2 separate regions of the Homo sapiens genome follow, and region 2 is linked to region 1. Evidence: promoter capture Hi-C in 16 types of primary human blood cells and fetal thymus (Javierre and others, 2016). All regions are on one chromosome and are shown on one strand. Each heading gives the region's core, a stretch centred on a gene start or on the middle of the fragment in contact. The rest is flanking DNA. Distances are from core to core; before and after follow the strand shown.

What was found. Contacts are between HindIII fragments. The CHiCAGO score rates a contact against its expected background, and 5 or more counts as called.
Region 2: a contact is called between a fragment that was not itself captured here and the fragment with the promoter of EN2 in region 1, in 1 of 17 cell types (neutrophils). The highest score is 5.1, in neutrophils.

Annotation. Positions count from the first base shown.
Region 1 is chr7:155,455,352-155,459,950 of GRCh38, forward strand. It overlaps EN2 (engrailed homeobox 2), which reads left to right and starts at 2,778. Exons shown (of 2, transcript NM_001427.4): 1 at 2,778-3,711. The coding sequence starts at 3,027. It overlaps EN2-DT (EN2 divergent transcript), which reads right to left and starts at 1,767. Exons shown (of 3, transcript NR_186580.1): 1 at 1,639-1,767. RefSeq lists an enhancer at 1,440-2,431. The HindIII fragment of the contact is 14,368 bases long and covers 1-4,599 here.
Region 2 is chr7:155,665,387-155,669,985 of GRCh38, forward strand. All of the region lies in intron 2 of RBM33 (RNA binding motif protein 33), which reads left to right. Among named protein-coding and RNA genes, the nearest start is that of RBM33, 23 kb to the left of the region's middle. The HindIII fragment of the contact is 3,684 bases long and covers 14-3,697 here.

The DNA.
Region 1 (4,599 bases), core at 1,528-4,027:
CTCTGCTTCCCAGAGTCTCTGTTGCAGCCACGAATTGGGGTCTGGGTCGCAGGAAAGCACAGGGCTGAAGCCCAGCGTCTTGGGGCCATTTATACTGAGGCAGTCAGAGGCAAAGAGTCCCAAGAATTCAGAAAATACTTCTCAGGAAGCCGCCTAATTGGCTTTCATGGGACAGGTGGAGCCATTAACCTGGGATGGTTTTGCAGGAACCAAAGAGCTCAGGGCCCCTCCTCCCCCCAATATCATGTTCAGGAGACCCAGAGTCGTTGGACCCTCCCTTTCCTGACTGGTGATCATCAGAGTTTCCAGAGTTGCAGAAAATTCTCCCCCCAAAAAACCAAGTAAGCGTCAATAAGACTTCCCACAAACTCTCACCAGCCCTATTTTCCCGGGGGGCAGGTAGACTGTGGGGTTTGATTTTTTGAGACTCGGGGAGGACCCCTGGCAGATGTGTGCCTAGCCAGAACATTTGGTAAGGACTCCTCCAATGAAGAAAAAGTGGAGGAATCCAGCCCCAGCGAGAAGAGGCTTCCCCACCCTGCCCTAGACACACCGGACAGAGGGCACACTCTGACCAGAGCCACGTCCAGTGGCCAGGAGGCCAGCCCAGCACCTCCTCCCCCACCATTCCCGTCCTGGGTGGGGGGGTAATTTTCCTGGGAGCAGCTGTGGGAACTGTCGTTTCTCATCCCAGCCCAGCCAGCACTCTGAAGCCTGCAGGGGAAGGACAGCACGTGGGATGGACACTGGGGAAGGAGCTTCGCAAGGCCAGGGTGCAACCTTCAGGCCCCAGGTGGCCTGGCAGGCCACGCTGCCTCGGAGATGCTTGCCAGACTCCCCAAGTTCACTCAGGGCCTGGCAGCAACCTGCTGGCTGCCTCTGCGGGGGTCTGGGTTGCTGAGCACGGTGCAGCTGCCCAGGGCCAATCAGCCCTAGGGTGTCCGTGCCAGGCTGCGGCCTCCCCGCCTCCCCCGCACTGAGGGTACTCATGGCGTGCAAATGCTCCCGCACCCCCAGAGCTGCCCTATCGGATGTTTCCAGGAATTCACACATTTCCATAAAAATGCATTTTAAATGATGGACAGGCGAGCCTGGGGTAACAACGGGTGTTTGGTGGGTAGACAAGAGCAAATGGGAAGGAGCCCGAGGGAGGAGGGGGAAGAGAAGAGGAAACAGAACTTCCAGTTGGACATTCTGACAACAGCTGGAAGGAAAGTCTAGAAAAGATGAAGAGAGAGGAGGGGAGAAACCAACTGGGGCTCCCACCCTTGCCGTTGGATTCCTAATTCTCGTTTCAAATGGGCCCTGCTCTCCGGCAAAATTAGTTTAAAGGATTTTAAAACAAAGAAAACGAGATGACCGGTCTGGGAGCTCCTCAATCAGAGTAGAGAAGTTAGAGGGGGGCGGGCGACTTGGTTTTGAAGTCTTAGCTGAACAGTCACCCCTCCTCTCCTTGGCAAAAAGGATTCCTTTAGAACCTCCGAGGCTCCTGGATTTCTCCCTTCGCAAATGGAGCCGCATACTGCATTCCCCCGCTCTTTCGGATCGCTAAGCATGTTTCATGAGGGTCGCTGTCCCCGGGTGGAATGCGGCCGTATGCACGCGCCTCCCTGCACACGCACACACACGCACACTTACAATAAGTGTCTGCAGGAGGAGTGTCCTGCGCGCCAGCTCTGCGTTTAAGACAGGAAGCTGCCGGGTTACCGAGTCAAATGGGAGTGACACTATTCCTCTCCATCAGCAAGGAAAGCGGACCACAAAAGTCCCTTTGTATCTCGGCAGCTCATTTAATATTATTTATGCATTTTGTGCAAGGAATTGTGGGATTTCGCCCCACGGTAAACAATATGGAAATCTTAAAAATAGCGATCTTCCTGTGCGTGTCCACCTACGCGCCCCGGGGTGACCTGGCGGGGCTGTCGCCGGGTGACTCACACCCCTGAACCGCGAAGCGACAGGGAAAGCGCGGGCGAGCGCAGGAGACGCGGTCGGGGGTCTCTCCGGGTTCCTGGGCTCCCGCACCCGGAGCGGGGGACGCGGCCGCTTTAAGGGGAGGAGGGGCGGCGGGCTGCTCCTGTCACCCAGCGGCGGCCGGAGCGTCACGTGGGCGCGCGGCGCCGCGGCCATTGGCCCGAGGCACGTGTCCAGGAGACCGGCCTGCGACGTCACTCGAGGGGGCTCTGTTAAAAATAAGAACAAAAATCCAGAGTGAAAGTGTCTCAGGTTGCGCCGAGTGGCCTGGAAATTTCCGAGCCCGCGCGGAGGCCGAGGCGGCGAGGGCGGCGGACGGCCGGGGAGCGCGGGCGGCCCAGCCCGGCCCGGCCGGGCCCTGGCCTCGCGTCTCTCACCCATGCGACTCGGGCCGCGGAGCTCTGCGGGGCTCGGCGGGGGCGCGGCCGCACGCCGGTGGGGCGCCCCGGCCCGCAGCGGGGCGGCGGCCGCGAGGAGGGGGCCTCCATGTGCGTGCGGGCGGTGGCGGGCGCGCTGACCGCGGGCGCCCGGCACCCTCGAGGGCCGGCTAGGGCGTGCGGGCGGGGACGGCCGGGCGGCGGCGGCGGCCGGAGCCGGCCCGGGCGGGCGTGAGCGCCGGGGAACGCGCTGCCTGCATGCGCGCAGCTCTCGCCCCGGGCGGCCCAGGCGGCGGCGCCGGAGCCCGAGGCGGCCGGACGCGGAGAGGAGCGGGGAGCCCGGGAGGCGGCCCGCGTCCCCGCCGGACCACTGCGACTGTCTAGACCCCGGCTGCGCGGCGAAGTCGAGGACTTGGCTCTGTTGAATCTCTCATCGTCTGGGCGAGCGGGGCGGCTCGTGGTGTTTCTAACCCAGTTCGTGGATTCAAAGGTGGCTCCGCGCCGAGCGCGGCCGGCGACTTGTAGGACCTCAGCCCTGGCCGCGGCCGCCGCGCACGCCCTCGGAAGACTCGGCGGGGTGGGGGCGCGGGGGTCTCCGTGTGCGCCGCGGGAGGGCCGAAGGCTGATTTGGAAGGGCGTCCCCGGAGAACCAGTGTGGGATTTACTGTGAACAGCATGGAGGAGAATGACCCCAAGCCTGGCGAAGCAGCGGCGGCGGTGGAGGGACAGCGGCAGCCGGAATCCAGCCCCGGCGGCGGCTCGGGCGGCGGCGGCGGTAGCAGCCCGGGCGAAGCGGACACCGGGCGCCGGCGGGCTCTGATGCTGCCCGCGGTCCTGCAGGCGCCCGGCAACCACCAGCACCCGCACCGCATCACCAACTTCTTCATCGACAACATCCTGCGGCCCGAGTTCGGCCGGCGAAAGGACGCGGGGACCTGCTGTGCGGGCGCGGGAGGAGGAAGGGGCGGCGGAGCCGGCGGCGAAGGCGGCGCGAGCGGTGCGGAGGGAGGCGGCGGCGCGGGCGGCTCGGAGCAGCTCTTGGGCTCGGGCTCCCGAGAGCCCCGGCAGAACCCGCCATGTGCGCCCGGCGCGGGCGGGCCGCTCCCAGCCGCCGGCAGCGACTCTCCGGGTGACGGGGAAGGCGGCTCCAAGACGCTCTCGCTGCACGGTGGCGCCAAGAAAGGCGGCGACCCCGGCGGCCCCCTGGACGGGTCGCTCAAGGCCCGCGGCTTGGGCGGCGGCGACCTGTCGGTGAGCTCGGACTCGGACAGCTCGCAAGCCGGCGCCAACCTGGGCGCGCAGCCCATGCTCTGGCCGGCGTGGGTCTACTGTACGCGCTACTCGGACCGGCCTTCTTCAGGTGAGCCCGCGGGGACCACGCGTCCCGGCTCGCCGCGGGGAGGCCCGCGGAGCTGGGGGGCGGTGCTGGCGCGGGAACTTACCGGGAGGAAAACATCTCGAACCTCCCCCGCGCACACGCACAAAGACTCACGCGACATTGTGTGAAGCTGACGCCGGCCCGGGCAGCGGCCAGGAGTCCAGCGGCAGGACTGATTCGCTAGGGGGTACAGACTTCTTAGGACCGCAGAAGGGACCTTCTTTCTTTCTCTGTCTCTCTCTCTCCTTCCTCTCTCCCTGTCTCCCCTCTCTGTCTTCCACCCCGCCTTGGCGCATCTCTTCCCAGCCCCTAGCCCATGTCTCCCCCACTGTAGTTTTTTTTGGTGGGAACGTGGTGGCTGGAAGATGGGCCCGGAAGTGCACACTCTCATCCCCTTCCCTACGATCTTCCAACTCAGGCCAGGCCGGGGACGCATGCCCCAGCCCACCCCAGACTTGTCCTACCATCCGGTTATCCCGGCTGTGCTCGGGGAAGAAAAGGCGAGGCCCTTTGCCGCTCTGCCTTCTGCCCCTCGGGCCTGCGCTGACCGGTGGGACTCAGGAGGATGCACACAGGGAAGGAGGAAAATAAAGGCGCCCTTTCCCCTTGGCTCCACTTTGTTTGCCAGCGCCAGCCCGCAGTGGTGGGGCTCAGCCCCCTTCCTGCACACAGCGAGGACAAGGGAGGCAGCCGTCCCTCCCGGCACCTGCCATCCCCAAATAGAAAGGACCTTCTCTCAGGGTTTCCTGGGGGCTGCTGATGGGAAAGAGGCAGCATTCGCAGGGGCCCTGCAGAGATGCTGGATATATTTTTTCATAGATCTGCGATTTTAAAAAACTAAGTCCATGTCCTTGTAGAAATCATCAACTG
Region 2 (4,599 bases), core at 606-3,105, 210 kb after region 1:
TGAGCTAAAGTGAAGCTTCTCCATGCAGAAGGCTGAGGTGTGCTCCTGTTCCAGGCCTGTGTTGTGTGGAGGGCTGCCAATAGATCATAGGTCTTCTGTCCTTTTTCTTTGTTTTTGTACAGTAATGATACTGACTTTGTGGACACCCAGAACCATTACTGGAGTGGCCTTGTGCCAGAGTTCTTTAAGCTCTACTTTGTACTGAATATCTGGCTACACTTTAACGTTTTTTCCATTCTAATATGTGTAGATGGTATTTCACTAATTTTAACTTTCATTTTCCTGGTTACCAGTGAAGATGAAAATACCTGTTTAGGAATGGATGAAAATGACCTGTTTAGGAATACACACAAACACAATTTAAAAATCCACAGTGATGATAGATGGTAGTTTGATATAGTGGTTACCTCTGGCAAGGAGTTAATAATAGAGGTTAGAGATGTGTTCTGGGAGAAATACACAGTGGGGCTTAATCTGGGTGGTGGGGCTGAGAAATGATGGTTATTCTTTATAACTTTTTTAACACCTTAAATACTGTGTTGAGAAAATGTAACAATTACTTTGAAGCTGCAGTCAATTTGAAAACGGCAGTGTCACATCTGGAAGTTTTATAGAATAATCTAACTTGAGAACTATGAGGCCCTTACAGTTCACATAAAGCTGATTGCTCTTTAGTGACTCATGCAGTGTATTAGTCAGGATTCTCCAGAGGAGCAGAACCAAAAGAATATATGTAGAAAGATTCATTATGAAGGACTGGCTCACGTGATTATGGAGACTGAGAAGTTACACGGTCTGTAGAATGGTGTAGTTCCAGTCTGAGCCCAGTGTTCTGTGAACCAGGGGAGCCAGTCATGGAAGTCCCTATCTGAGCCTGGAGGCCTGAGAACCAGGAGCACCCATGTCTGAGGGCAGAAGATAGCTCAGCTCAAGAAGAGGGTGAATTTGCCCAACTCCAACTTTTTGGGTAATGTCTGCCCACATTGGTGAGGATGGATTTCTTTACTCAGTCTGTGGACTCATTGCTAATCAGCTCTGGAAGCACCCTCATGGACTTTCACAGAAATAATATTTTGTTAGGTAGCTGGGCATCTCTTATCCCAGTCAAGCTGTCGCACAAAATCAGCCAGTATGCATTCTAAAAGTTAGATAGTGCTTAAAAACGATGTCTTTCCTAGAAAAGAAATGGTCTTACTAGTAAGTACTAAAGCTAGTTTTGATTAAAAGACTGTGATGGTGAGCTGAATAAAATATTAAGTGGGTCTTTCAATAGCTTACTCATTATTTGGAGTTCCTCTTTGAATGGTCTGTTCATATCTGTTTTTTCTTTTGGGTTGTTTGTCTTTTGTTTATTGATTTTAGGGACTGTTTATATTATACTTACTGGAAATTTATTTTTATTGTTTATAAGTATCTCCTCCCAGTCTGTGGCATGTGTTTCCTTAAAAAATAGTCTTTGACTAGATTTTTGAGAAGAATACAGTCAGATGTATAATCTTTTTTCTGTGTAGTTTTTATTCTTTTTTTATTAAAACATGAACAAAAATGTATTTGGAAACCCTTTCAGACTTCCAAGAAAGTTGCAAGAATAATACAGAAACTCCCACTTGACCTTCTCTTACACTCATGAACTGCTTTTTGTCAACTTATGTTGTCATTCTAATTGTTTACGTACATGGATATACTGTATATGTAAAATTTTCTTTCCTGTACCATTTGACAGTAGGTTGCAGGTGTCATGCCACTTCCGAATGCTTCAGTATTGTTTAGCATGTATTTCCCGCAAAACAGGAACTTTCACTTATATAAATATTGTATAATTTTTAAAGTCAGGAAGTTTATCAGACATCCAGTTCTATATATGTGAGGTTTATTGTTGTTGTTTTGGAGACAGGGTGTTTCTCTGTCACGCAGGTGGAGTGTAGTGGCGTGATCATAGCAAGCAGGAACTCCTGGGCTCAAGTGATGCTCCTGCCTTGGCCTCCCAGAGTGCTGGGATTGGCGTGAGCTAGTGTGCCGTGCCCAGTTGTATTTTTATTCTACAGTGGTTATTCAGATTGTTTTCAGTTGTCTCAATAATTTCCTTTATACCCCCAAAAGAATTTTTTGTTCTGATTCAAGATTCAATTCAGGATCATACATTGCATTTTTCTTTCATCATTTCTTAATGTGGAAGAATTCTGTAGCCTGTCTTTTATGACGTTGACAGGCCATTTATCTTGGGTTTGCTGGTGGTCCATTGTGACTAAATGCGGGCTGTGCATTGTGGTCAGAGTAGATGATGTGTGGCCTCCTGAGTGCCCACTTCAGGAGGCACAGGAAATTGGTTTGTGCTTTTTGTCCTTAAGAAATTCTTCCCTTCCTTGTATTCTAGATATCTCCTGCATGTGTCTATGAAAGTTGTAATTTTTTTAAATAGCTATACAGTCTGCCTGAAATTGATTGAATTGATTGATTTTTAGTTACTAACAAGTTCAAGCATATGTGAAAATAGACTAGTACAGTGAACCCAATGTACCATCTTCCAGTTTCACCAGTTATCAGCATATAGCCAATCTCTTATCCATACTCTCTGCAGCCCCCTCAAATCACAAAATTTTTGAAAAAATTTCAGAATATATTTTTCTAAAAAATAAACGGTTTAAAATATAGCCACAATAGTTACTATATCTAAAAAAATTCCTTATTACGTAAATATCTTAGTGTTTACATTTCCGATTGTCTCTTATATTTGTGTGTGTGTCTATGTATACGTATGTAGACGCATATATATCTACATACATATGTATACACACATATTTTAAATATATGTATTAGTATACTGTCACTTACACAGTGTGGATATGTGTCTGTGTGCTTTTTGATGGTTTGAATTGGGCGCACATGGTCATTGATGGGTATGTCTTTCAAGTGTTGTTTCATGTACAGGTTCTCCCCCATCTTATTTTAGTTCCATGCAATTTTTGTTGAAGAAGCAAGGTAGCGTGTCTTCTAGAATTTTTCCTTTTGCTGATTGCACTCCCTGAGGTGTTTTTAGTGTGCCCCTTAGCTGCTGATATTTTATGTGAGTTAATAGAAGTGGATGGGATTCAGGTTTGAACTTGGGGGAGGGGCCGGGGTGTGGCAGTGTAGTAAGTATTGCTGTGTTCCTCATCGGAAGCTCCTTGGGGGCTGGTGAACTTTGCGTGGTGATACCTCTGCTTTTCCTGTTACCTGTAGTACTAGTACACTAATATACTACCTAATAGTACTGTAAACTAGTTCGTTCTTGAGGTAGAGATTACATAGAAAAGACAGGGTAAGTGATTGAGTCTTTCCTGTTGTTTACCAAGTTTCAAACTAAGAAGTCAGCCCTAGCACTTGCAGGGATGAGTTTTGTTTTTGAATCATTTTGAAATCATAGATTTAAATGTTGGTTGTGTTGAATCCATTGTCGTTTCGTATCTTTATTGGTGGTTACATTGCCTGATATTTGTTCAACTGGAATTTCTTCAGGTTGGCTCCTGTGTCCATTTGACATGACTTTAGATGTCTTTGGCAGCTGTCTTGCTTTCTGCTATGATGGAACTTGTTTTGGTCATGGTGTGAGACGGTTCTAGGTTTTATTGTTTACCGTATTATGAATTGCAGTTGTTTCATATTGTTTGTGAACGAGCTCTTTTTTTTACTGTCTTCAGTGACGTGTTTGCATCTATGAAGCTTTTGCCACATGTATTTCTTTTTTGATGTTTTAAGCATAAGACAGCCTCTCTGTGTGCTGCATGACACAGAGAGAGACACTTGGAAGGTGAGAAGAGTGGGTCAGGAATTACTATGGTAAGTTCTTCTGCCATGCTGTACTGGTAGTGGTGTTTGGAAGAATATGATGTCATTGCTGAACCAACACCTGAAATTGTGTTTTATTTATTTTTTTTAAAGATATGAATGTCTCATGTGTCCAGGCAAGAAAGAGATACCCACTCAAAAAGTTTTTGTTTGTTTTTGTTTTTGTTTTTTTGAGACAGAGTCTGCTCTGGAGTGCAGTGGTGCGATATCAGCTCACTGCAACCTCTACCTCCCAGGTTCAAGCGATTCTCATGCCTCAGTCTCCCGAGTAGCCGGGATTACAGGCATGTGCCACCGTGCCTGGCTAATATTTATATTTTTAGTAGAGAAGGGGTTTCGCCGTGTTGGCCAGGCTGGTCTTGAACTCCTGGTCTCAGGTGATCCAACCACCTCAGCTTCCCAAAGTGTTGAGATTACGGTGTGAATCATCATGCCTGGCCCAAAAAGTTTTAACTGAAGAAATTTAATGACGGGTCTATTTACAGGCCAGGGTTAAAGAACTAATGAGTTCATTCCCATCCAGGGAGTACCAGTTCCTGCCCCGGCCTTGTGGGAAGTGGTGTCCTAGGGCCCAGTGAAGGCTGTTGGGGGAGGGATACTGTAGTCTCTATTTCTTCAGGTGAGAGGGGAGGGGCCGGTCTTTCTCCTCCTACTTGGTGACGTTATGTTGGTGCGTCCCAATGGGCGAATCCATCTGGAAGCCAGAGGTTAGGACCGGCTGTGCCAGCTGCTCCTGGAGGACGCAATCCAGCCACAGAGCAGGCAGGTAAGACG